Regions from separate parts of the Homo sapiens genome. Here region 1 is linked to region 2. Evidence: promoter capture Hi-C in 16 types of primary human blood cells and fetal thymus (Javierre and others, 2016). All regions are on one chromosome and are shown on one strand. The core of a region is centred on a gene start or on the middle of the fragment in contact, and the rest is flanking DNA. Distances in the headings are between cores, read along the strand shown.

What was found. Contacts are between HindIII fragments. The CHiCAGO score rates a contact against its expected background, and 5 or more counts as called.
Region 1: a contact is called between a fragment that was not itself captured here and the fragment with the promoter of SEPTIN11 in region 2, in 5 of 17 cell types (M2 macrophages, endothelial precursors, M1 macrophages and 2 more). The highest score is 9.3, in M2 macrophages.

Annotation. Positions count from the first base shown.
Region 1 is chr4:76,514,070-76,519,470 of GRCh38, reverse strand. All of the region lies in intron 1 of SHROOM3 (shroom family member 3), which reads right to left. Among named protein-coding and RNA genes, the nearest start is that of MIR4450, 57 kb to the left of the region's middle. The HindIII fragment of the contact is 936 bases long and covers 1,636-2,571 here.
Region 2 is chr4:76,947,818-76,953,681 of GRCh38, reverse strand. SEPTIN11 (septin 11) reads right to left here and starts at 3,930. Exons shown (of 10, transcript NM_018243.4): 1 at 3,752-3,930. The coding sequence starts at 3,778. LOC105377294 (a long non-coding RNA gene) reads left to right here and starts at 4,117. Exons shown (of 3, transcript XR_001741739.2): 1 at 4,117-4,719. RefSeq lists silencers at 3,636-3,945, 3,976-4,155 and an enhancer at 5,066-5,145. The HindIII fragment of the contact is 7,046 bases long and covers 1,025-5,864 here.

The sequences.
Region 1 (5,401 bases), core at 854-3,353, 430 kb after region 2:
GGCTGAATTGATTGCATAATTTATATTGTTATTTTTCTATTTTGTCTATTTCTTCTGCTTTTTTCTGTTTACCAAAATTTACAGAATTGATTGAAGTCACTGAAGTTAAATGCACCCTCTGAACATTTAGGAGTAAACTGGGGCCTCTTGGTCAGCAAATGCTATCTTTTGGTCCATAGTTTCTATGACTACTCCCTGACCCCTAGAGATGCACTTTGTTTATCCAGCACCCTCCTTTCTAGGAAAGGCATCCCTCCTTTAAGGGAATAGCCCTCCCGTCTACAGTCAGTGATTCTAAGGTTTTCCCAACCATAGTGTTTCACTGGCCACCCAGGTGGGCATGTGGCCTAAGCCTAACCAACCAGAAGCCTTTGCTGGGATTTCTTCACTTACAACCAGAGAGTAGCTCTCAGTTCTCTTCCAAGGGCAAGGCTATGCCGCATCTTGAGGCTTCACCAGCTGTGTACCCAGACTGTGGTGTGAATGAAGAAAACAAGCAGAGAGAGGCAGTGTTAGGAGAAGGAGACTCCTAGCTCCATTCTTGTTCCACTTCCAGTGATCTCTAGGGTATGTAATCTCTATGCCCTTGCGCTTTTTGTACTGGTTCAATAAATATCTTCTTTTTGCTTCATTGAGTTTACATCGCTTGCAATAAAAAGAATTTTAATACAGCCCTCAAGAGTTTGCTTCCCTGACCTGTATCAGTATTTATGTTTTCTAGGCAAATGAGAGAGTACACAGGAACAGGCTTGGGTGCCTGGCCCCAGATGTGTTACAGTACTCATTTAGAAATATGTTAGATAAGCTCCGTAGAACCCTACCAAATGTGAACAGCCATTTTTGATTCTTTGAAATCATTCAGATTATTTAACACAGGCAGGCAGGCAGGCAGGCAAGCAGGCAAGAAGGAAGGAAGGAAGGAAGAAGGTAGGAAGGAAGGAAGGTAGGAAGGAAGGAAAGAAGGAAGGAAGGAAGGCAGGCAGGCAGACAGGCAAAAAGGAAGGAGGGGGGAGGGGAAAGAAAATGAAATAAAACCCTGTCCATTAATGAGAACACTCTGTTTTTGCCTCTGTCTTTCAAAGACATGGGGAAAATGATCTCATTCAACCACAACAAAGATTTATGGAGTGCATATTAGGTGCCAGATGCTGATATGGAGTGGAGGACACTACGAATGAATAAATGTAGTCCCTGCTCTTGGGGGGTTAAATGCCTAAAGAATTATAGAGGTTTGAACCTCCCCAAAATGTCTGTCTTTCCCCCTATTTATCAGAAGTTGAGATAATTTGATATTTTATATGATTCTTAAGAGTCAAGCTCTCACCCTCCACTAGGAATACACACACACATACACACACACAACCAAAATAATCATCTTGCAATTTCTGAGGGTTGACAGATATTTCCTTATAACTTAAATAAATCTCTCATTTTAAAAGCTGTCCCTCTGGACTAAAAAAAATCTGATTTAGAAACTTTACCACAGTCAATTCATATCATTTACTTTGTAAGGAAAAAGTCTTCATGTTCCTCTTCTATATGCAGCCCTTGCTCTGCTGCAGCCGCAATATCCCGGTGAGGCTACCGGGAGGTCATTCAATCCACTTCCTTTCCACGGGGAATGGCTGGGAAGCTTTGGTTAAATGAGTGGTCCAAGGTCACATGGTAACAAATTCTGGCCCAGAGTCCTAATCTGAAAACCCTAGTCTTTTCCTCTCTCTGCTAGCATACACAGGCCCTCATTGGTCTGAGAATTAGCAGAACAGAACCCATATTGTTGAAGAAATTTTCAAATAATCAGCCACTGACTACAGCCCTAACATCCCCTTTATATATATATATATATATACCAAACAAACAAACAAAAACCCTAAGCAACTCAATCAGGAGAAATTCTTTTTAAGTTTCATTTACATGGATAAGAATCCTAAATCTTACCTATCTAGCACATCATGTCAAAAAACTACAAGTTAACCAAGCAAGAATTCTGTGAAACTACCTGGTCAGACCAGCAGAGCTGAGAACAGTGCCCTGGGCATGCAGGGTTAGGGATGTTCTGTATTTGGGATGCCCTGTACTTGCGATGCAGTGTTACCACCTGGGATAGGGAGGAAGTGAGCCTTTTTTAGACACTGTATCTTTGATAGTCCAGGTGATTTGCCTACACCCATCCAATGCCAACTGCATGTAAACTGGGGTGACTTGTTAGTTCCTGGATGACAAGGGTATGACCCAAGATGGGCAGACACACGGACTCTTTCTCACCAGGGCCTCTGGCAGACATTTTCCATGTATCAAAGCTCAAAGCAAAGTTCTTTTACAGCAAAGAAGACCAAGCAGTTGTCACTGAGAAGAAACCTGATTGCTCTCCTTGCAATGATCCTTTCAGCACTAAATATCTAATCCCATTGTAAGACTGAGAAAGTCACCAAGTGTGTTGTATTGCAGCAGGAAATCTATTTGAAGACAGTTTTAATAACAAGATAAATAGAAGTTCCAAAGGGTAGGAAAGGATTTCCTTAAGTGAGAACATAAATAACTCATCATTAAAATCTGGGTATGATGGAAGCTTGGCTGAAAGCAAGACTCTGGATTGGCTAGCTCAGAGGGAGTTCTCAAACCTCCCTGTAAAACTTTTTCACAGATTTCCTGTTCATGAGACTTGGGGTGGGATTGGAGGTAGCAGCTATAATTTATGAAAGGATCCAGGATCAGAAACTTAGAAAATCAGATCTGGAGACCCAACTTAAGTGTAGTTATTGGCTAGACTGTCCTCAGGGACTGCCCTGGTGATGTACACCAGGACTTTGTGTTTCTGTAATGTGCTTATTGCATAATATCTATTAGCTGGTGATTTTGGTTCCTTTTTTTTTTCTAAATCATGCTCCTGTTTTCATATATTATGAGCAAAGTGCTGTTATCTGAGAGTATCAGCTGACTCAGACCATTCAGTTCAGGGATTCCTCTAGGCTCCTGAGTAGGGGCTTAGATAGGGCAAATTCTGATGGTCTTACAAGGGAACCCCAGTCCTTCATGTCATAAGAGCATCTCTGCCTATAGCTTCATCTGATCTCAACACAGAGAACTAATAAGGTAGGGACATGGCATGATTTGGACTTCAGGAATATTACTTTCCTAGTTGGAAGGATGGATAATAGGAGCAATATTACAGTCTAGAAAACATGTTACAAAGATATTGCAATTGACCAGGCTAGAGAGAAAGAGGAACTGAACAGGAGAAATGACGGAGAAGAGATATACATTTGAGTAATAGTAGGAGGTAAAGTCAGTATCCTTGGTCATTCACTAACCATAGTGGGTGAAGGAGCAGAAAGACTCTGTGGTGACTTCAAAGAAGGATCACAACCCACTTTCCCTCTCGGTCTACTGCTAGTTTCACACACTAACCTGACTCCCAATCTCTCTCATTATCTTTGTGTTATTATGAAGTATCATTTCTGGTTATCAGACATGGCTTCCCATGTAATCATTTCCCATGCCAGGCCCTGTGTCAACAGTTGAGCTTTCTACCCACCTGGAGTTTGAGAACAGATCAAGACCAGCTTATGCCTAATATCTCAAATTAATTATTTACCTCATAAAGTAGTACCAGGCAAGTGAGACTGATAAGTCTGTCCTAGCTTAGAAGAAAGACCACCTACATGACTTCTCAACATGACTTTAAATAATAAAATTAAATTTGGCAATGGGAAGTCTACACCCAGACAAGTCTCGGCTTGAGTTTATATGGTTTTTAGACGTAAAATCCAACTCTGGTCACTGACTGATACTGCAAACCCAGAAACATTAACCAAGAAATATTTCATATCCTCTGCTCTATTGGAATAAAACCCAAGCCACTGAGGAGTTTAAGGGCAAAGGACAATTCGAAAACCTGGAAGCAATGGTCAATGTGCTCATTAGAAGTTCTAAAGGAAATAATAATAATAACAATAACATTCTGAAGACCAGAGCCCAAGGGAATCTCAGAGAACAATGGAAATTTCTATTGTGTTGAAAATCATGGAATCAGCCTCTCTTCTCTTGTTTGGTTTTCATTTTCTTCCTTCCTTCCTTTTTTTTTTCAGACAAGTTCTCATTATGTCATCCAGGCTGGAATGCAGTGGCACCATCTTGGCTCACTGTAGCCTCAACCTCCTGGACTCAACTGATCCTTCTGCCTCAGGCTCCTGAGTAGTTAGGACTACAGGCACATGCCACAACATCCAGCTAATTTTTTTTTTTTTTTTTTTTTTTAGACAGAGTTTTGCTCTGTCACCCAGGCTGGAGTGCAGAGGCGTGATCTCAGCTCACTGCAACTTCTACCTCTTGGGTTCAAGCAATTCTCCTGCCTCAGCCTCCCAAGTAGCTGGGATTACAGGCTTCCAGCACCATGCCCAGCTAATTTTTGTATTTGTAGTAGAGACGGGGTTTCACCACATTGGCCAGACTGGTCTCGAACTCCTGACCTCAAGCGATCCACCCACCTTGGCCTCCCAAAGTGTTGGAATTACAGGTGTGAGCCACCACATCTGAACTTTTTTAACAAATGGGTCTCACTATGTTTCCCAGGCTGGTCTTGAACTCCTTGGCCTTACAATGTGCTGGGATTACAGATGTCAGCCACTGCACCCAGCTCATTTTCTTTCTTGAGCCAAGTATTTTCTCTTCCATCTTTCCTCGTTGTCTTGTTCTCCTTCCCTATACTTCATTTTTAATTTTAATTGAATTATATTTTAAATGTTTAATATATTTATTGAATAAAGTTTCACGCTTCATATATTATTGAGATGTAATTCGCATATCATAAAATTAAATCCACATACTATAAAATTCACCCTTTTTCATTGAACAGTTCATTGGCTTATAGTGTATTTACAGAGTTGTGGAACTAGGACCACTATCTAATTTCAGAACATTTTCATCGTCCCAAAAGAGACCTCATATCCACTCGCAGTCCTACTCCATTCTCCCCTATACCAAACCAGCCCCTGGCAGCCACTGAAGTACTTTATTTTTCTATGGATTTGCCTGTTCTGGGCATTTCATATGAGTGGAATCATGCAATATGTGGCCTTTGGTGTCTGCCTTCTTTCAGTTTTTTAAGGTTTCTCCACATTGCAGCATGTATCAGTACATCATTCTTTTTTATGGCTAAATAATATTCCATTATATTGATATACCACATTTAATGTATTCACCATCAGTTAACAAAAATGTGGGTTTCTCCACTTTTTGGCTATCATGAATAATGCTACTATGAACATTTGTTTGGATGTATGTTTTCATTTTTCTTGAGTATTTACCTAGCAGTGCAATTCCTGGCCATATGGTAAGTCCATGTTTAACTTTTTGAGAAACTTCCAAACTGTTTTCCAGAGTGGCTGAAAATTGTTACTAT
Region 2 (5,864 bases), core at 2,681-5,180:
CACTGACTAAAAAGTTCTAATTTTTGAAAACTGACCTGAGATGACAGTCCCTTTATTGTTTAGGTGGCCCTCCCCTGGACCTTTCTTGGCTCCATTCATGTTTCTCCAGGCACACCGACCACAGCCATCCATCTGGGGCCACATTTTCAAGTCACAAAAATGGCAATTTTATAACAAGGGAAAGTAACATTTTATTGGCAGTACTCCTCCACTTCCCACACTCCCTGCCCTCATCTTTAAGAATTGCCTATAATTATCCCCAGACAGATATGATCCTTCACCTGAATCATATTTGCTGAGTCAGCAATAGGCATATAATTCCTTTTCTCCCTAAATGATTTACACATTTACACTGAAGTCTGTCACTTTAATACACCAAATCTCTCAAACAATAAAGCTCCTGGTAAGAAGAAAACTTGTCCACTGCTATATCCCCAACACCTAGAACAAGTTCCTGACACATAGCAGGTGCTTAATAAATGGTGTTAAATGAGCAAATGGAAACTTGGTTTTCCATTTCCTTCAGCTCAACAGATAAAACAGCAATTAAGTGCATTTCTTGAAGGATATCATAGGGAAATCTCCACCACCAGTGAAGTTTAAACACATATTTTTTGTTAGGGATAAAGTAAGAAATATTTCTGCACTGGGGAGCAGGCTAACCCAAATGACCTCTAACGTTCCTTTCAACTCCTAGAGTTTTTAAACTGATGAACACCACAGCTTAGGAGAGGCCATCAGCTACATAAAGCCTGATTCCCAAGTAGAGTAAATTGCCATGTTCTGTTTAAAATAAAGATAATAGCTGCCCCGGGATTTGGACGCAAAAATGCTAATTCATCCAAAATGCAGACACATCCCTTGGGAGTAAAATGTTCTTGCTAATCATCAGTTATACTAGGCAAACAGCAGATGTGCTTCAGGGTCTTCTTAGGGCTAAGCCCAAAAACCATCAGTGGGGAAATGGAGAAGCTAGGGATCAAAATTAAAACTGAAATAAACAGTATCACACTAAATTGAAGCTTTGTTTTGCAGTCAACAACAAATCCACTTAAGAAACTTACCTGAATTTAGCCTTGAGGTTTGAATGGTTTGTAACAGAATATAACCATTTCATAAGATAGAAAATAGTGCATTTGACATGTAAGCATTTTTGCCCACTAAAATGTCATATTTACCTGGGATATCACACTCAGATGTTCCCATTCAAGAATATCAAAAATTTAGGGTAAGTTATTCAGATTGCATTTTTCTTCAGTCTGGCGGGGAGAGGTAGTTATCGCAAAAGGAGATATATGTCCTAAATAACTTTTTAAAAAATCTAATTAAATACCTAGGGAAATTCCATTCACACATAAATCAACTTCGGAGTGGTTCTTTTCCCTCAGCGCACCCTTCCTTTCTTTTGGTGAAATCACAGACTAGATAAGAAATGGGAGGGCCAGAGAACTCTTAACTTTAAAGGTGCAGTGTAGATTCCATGGAGCTGTGTCTCAAGAGTCTTCCCCATTCATTGACTTTGTTTTAAAGCCATAACTGCAGAGACCACACTTAAGACAATAGCCCAATGAACAAAGTGAAAGGATTCAACAATTATCTGTGAAATGTGATCACATATTTTCTGTAGACTTTCTAACTTTATAGTCAATTCCTAATCACTCGTACATTAGGTTTCCAAAAGAAAAGTCTTCTGTCTTTAGATTGTAATTTAATTTTAATTCCAGTGACAACAGAGTGCGCAGAAAGAAGTCACTTCCTCTGTGCACGTATACTTAAAAAAAATCTCCTCTATTATCTGAAGAGGGAGGTCTAACATAAGAATTCTGTGGGATTAAGCTCACATATGGTTGGCCGACTTGGTGTTGGATGTGATTACGGCCACACAACTAAACCTTAAATCCACATACTGTTCCTATTTAACTGACATATATGAACTAATTTATAGAAAATGTGCAGCTAATTATTTCTTCCACCTCCTCCATCCCTCAAGAATGCACCAGCAATAATACGTGTTACTGAAAAAGCCAAACACCCCCACTGAATATTTGCAATCCTAAACGTTTGCCAATTTATCTAAAGCAGATATTGTTATTTTAGTTCTCTGAATCTATGCCTGCTAATAAGTATAATGGGGGGCAGGGGGAGGAGTAATTTAACCAGATAAATTTCACCTCTATAGACCTCAATTTTCTCACCAAAAATAAAACGACTAGCCCAGAGACTATGCAAATTCCCTCAGTAACAATAACCTACATGTGACCACTAATTATCAAGAGCACAATTTATGTGCAAAAGAAGACCAGAATTCTTAAAAGAGCCATGTCATTAAATCGTAGAGTTGAAAAGGCCTAAAAGACAGTCATGATTCGATATGACCGCTGTGTTTTCTGACTGCAGAAAACGTCTTTGAAAGCACCGCGGGCAGCCGAACCACCAAATCGAATTAGAATCCGCAAAGGGACCCATGAACTTCTCCCGAGGGGGTAGGGTGCAAAAGGCGCGCGTATCTGGGGAGGAGTTAGGCGGGGAGAGGGGGAAGAGCCGGGAGCCTGAGAGCACAGCCTTGCATTTCTGGGATTTCCGAGCTTCCAGTATCTCAGTAAGTCTTTCGTCTGTAACTACAAAATCTCCCGAGCCACCACCTGCAGCTGCACAGCTGTGGGAAAGGGAAGAAGAAAAAGGGAAGAGGAGGTGATAGACAGGGAAAGACATCGCCCGAGGCGCCCCCAAAGCCAGTAAGGCGAGTGGACTGTGAACATCGACGATGAAAAGGGGAAAGGGAAAACAGGAGGACTCCGCCTTTCCCACCCAGCTCCGCTCCTTTCAAAAAAAAGGAAAGGCCGCCGCCGCCCCTTCCTCCGCCTTTCACTTGGGGATGCGGAGCGGCCACTGAACCGCACCCTCGGAGTCCCGCTCCCCTCCGGCCCGGCCCCGGGGCGCGGACCGAGTCTTGCAACCCAGTAGGCGCGGCGCCTTGGCCCACACACTCGGGGCAAAGGTATCTCCTCCCTCCTACTCTCCTCCCTCCCGCCGTGGGGCACTCGATTCTTCACGCACCCGCCCGCCCTTCCTCTTCCTCGCGTCCCAGCCTCCTCAGCCCGCCGCCCCCGGCCTTTCAGCCGCAGAACATTTCAGTCCTTCCACCCACACCACAAGGGAGCCTCCAGAAAACTTTGTGTGTGTTATCTGGGGCTTTGTCCACATCCTGGGCAGGGCCCGCTCAGCCGGGTGGATGCCCGAGGGTGTCCGGGATCTCACAATGCGCTGGGGAGGCCACCACGGAAATCCCACCCCTCTGACCTGCTTCTACAGCAGTGCCACACGCAGCACTTCAGCTCGCAATTCCCATGCCCTGAGCGCCCCCTCGGCGCGGGGGAGACTGGAGGAAAGCCCCGAACCCGGCGCCCTTCTGGCTGTCACGAGGGAAGAGGTGCGCGGGCAGAGGGAGGCGGCTGAGACACGCCGCGCCTCAAAGAATTATTTTAAAGGGAACAGGAGAGGGGTCCTTTTTCTTTCGCATTCCCAGAAGAGGGGCGCGACGAGGCGATCCACTGTTGCATCACGTAACTGAGCCCCTGGGCTCCTAACCCCGACCCCAGACGCGCGCCCAAATTCGTGCACACACCCACAGCCGTCGCCGCCGCCGCGGGGCCGAGCACCCGCCCGGCTCCCCTGTGGTCCTCACCGCACCCGCCCCAGAGCAGAGACCACCCGGCGCCCGAGGAGCAGCAGGCGAGGCCCCAGCACTCACAGACGGTCTCCCCACGGCCACGGCCATCGCAGCTGCGGCACCGGCTCCGGCTGCGCCCGGGTGCTTTACGCCGACTCCGGCTGCTGCTAGTGCTCGGGCTCCGGCTCGCCTCCCTCGCGCCTCCCTCGCGGCTGCGCTCTGCTCGCCGGCGTCCCGCTGGCAGCCAGCGGCATCTGCTCCCCCCACGCCGCCGCCCCTCCCGCTTTATTAGAGCAACATGGCCACCCGCCTGGAAGGGACCATTCGCTTCCCCAGGAAGGGGTGTGAGCCTGCGCGCCCGGCCGCGGTGGTGGGCGGGAGGATGGTGGGCGGGCTCCGAGCCCAGCTCCACTGGCCCCGGCCGCGGGGCTCGCCCCTCCGTCCCCAAACGACCGTCTCCGCTGCCATGAGATGCCGACAGCCTGTGCGCTGGCCGCCACCCCCTGCTCCATCAGGTGCTGGAATCTGAGTAAAAGCCTGGGCGCGAGCTCCCAGCCCCGGGGCCTGCCACCGGCTCCACGAAGCGGGCAGCTCCAGCGGCCGCCGGGAGAAGGAAGGGCGACCGGGGGAGACGGGTCGCAGGGACAGCACGTGGCGGAAAGTTAGCCCCGGACTAGCACGCCCCACCCGGAGAAGCCGGCCTGGAAGGGGCTGCGGACCACCAGGCGGAGCGGTGGGCGACCGAAGTGCGGCTGGGCTGGCCTCCTCGTCTCCGCACTGGAAGAATTGCCCTTCCGCAAGTCTTCCCTTCCCACATGGGGGCCCTCCAGGCCGCACCTCGGTCGCCCACCGCTTCCCTTGAGAAGGGAGACTAAAGACAGGCATCTGGAAGCTGTCACTGTGGCGCGCGGGCAGACAGGGGATCCCATTGGAGAGGAAGAGCCGTAGTAGTCGCTGCTGCCTTCGGCCGACCCAACGGCCGCCTGCTTGGGAGGAAGAAAAAGAACGCCCCCGCTGAAGAATTAAGGCAGCCATTGGTTGCTCTAGGGGTAAGGACCGAGGCCTCCCCTGGGTGTCACTGGAGCAGCCACACGTGGGGGATCAGCCGACTTCATTCGATCGCTGGCGACAGACCCGGCGACCCGTAGGAATGCGCGCTGGGGCTGCGGCTGGAGGGCGTGGCGACGGCAACAGGCGGGTGGCTCGAGTGGGTGCGACTCTGGGCGCGTGGGACTGAGAACTCCTCCGCCGTGGGGAAGATTTTTTTCCCAGCAGATGTTGGGGTGTTACTGCGTGTCTGAGGGGCCGGCGGAATGGAGGGGTCCCGGTGCGTGCAGGGCAGCGAGGTGTGTCAGATGAGCTGTGGATCCCTGCGGCCCCACGTGGGCCGGAGAGGGGGGCCCACGACAACAAGCGATTGAGGACAGCGATGGACAGGGCGGGGAACCAGCTGGGTGGAAGCACAGGGAGTGTGGTGAGGAGGGAAGGGCTGTGATCTGCCCTCGGTACGACGCCCCAAGGGACAGCCTGGCCTCCTGAATTAGGGAAAAGACAACCGGTCTCTTTAGACGGGCGCCTCAGAGTCTGACCTGAGTCTTCAAACGCCCAGATCCCCTGGGGCCTTGAGTCTCCCTGTCCCGCTGGCCCTGCCTCGCCTGCGCTTCAGGACTCCGACGCCCCCGCAGCCTTGGGCTAAGGGTCAGTCGTCCCCGGGCGCGGGTCCGGCTGCCCTGGAACTGATGCTGGATTTCGCTGGTAGGTGGGCTAGGGGCTTGGTCACCCCGTCTGAATTCCACTGTCAGGACAGCTGTGGAACCGCCAGAGAAAAGTCTGGCCATGAAAGAAAGGTGAGGGGCGCCGACGCAGAGCTTATTTATTCAGTCTGTGGGCGGACTCAGACGTGCAGAGCACCAACCTCTTCAATTTCTGCCCTCTAGACTCCAAATCTTTTGAAATTAGGGACCACCATTTTATGCCAAACATACAGTAGGCGCTCAATAAGTGTTGAATTAAGATTACACATAAATGGGCCGGGCGCGGTGGCTCACGCCTGTAATCCCAGCACCTTGGGAGGCTGAGGTGGGCCAACATGGTGAAACCTTGGCTCTAAAAAAATGCAAAAATTAGCCAGGCATGGTGGCGCTTGCCTGTAGTCCCAGCTACTATAGAGGCTGAGGTGGGAGAGTCGCTTGAA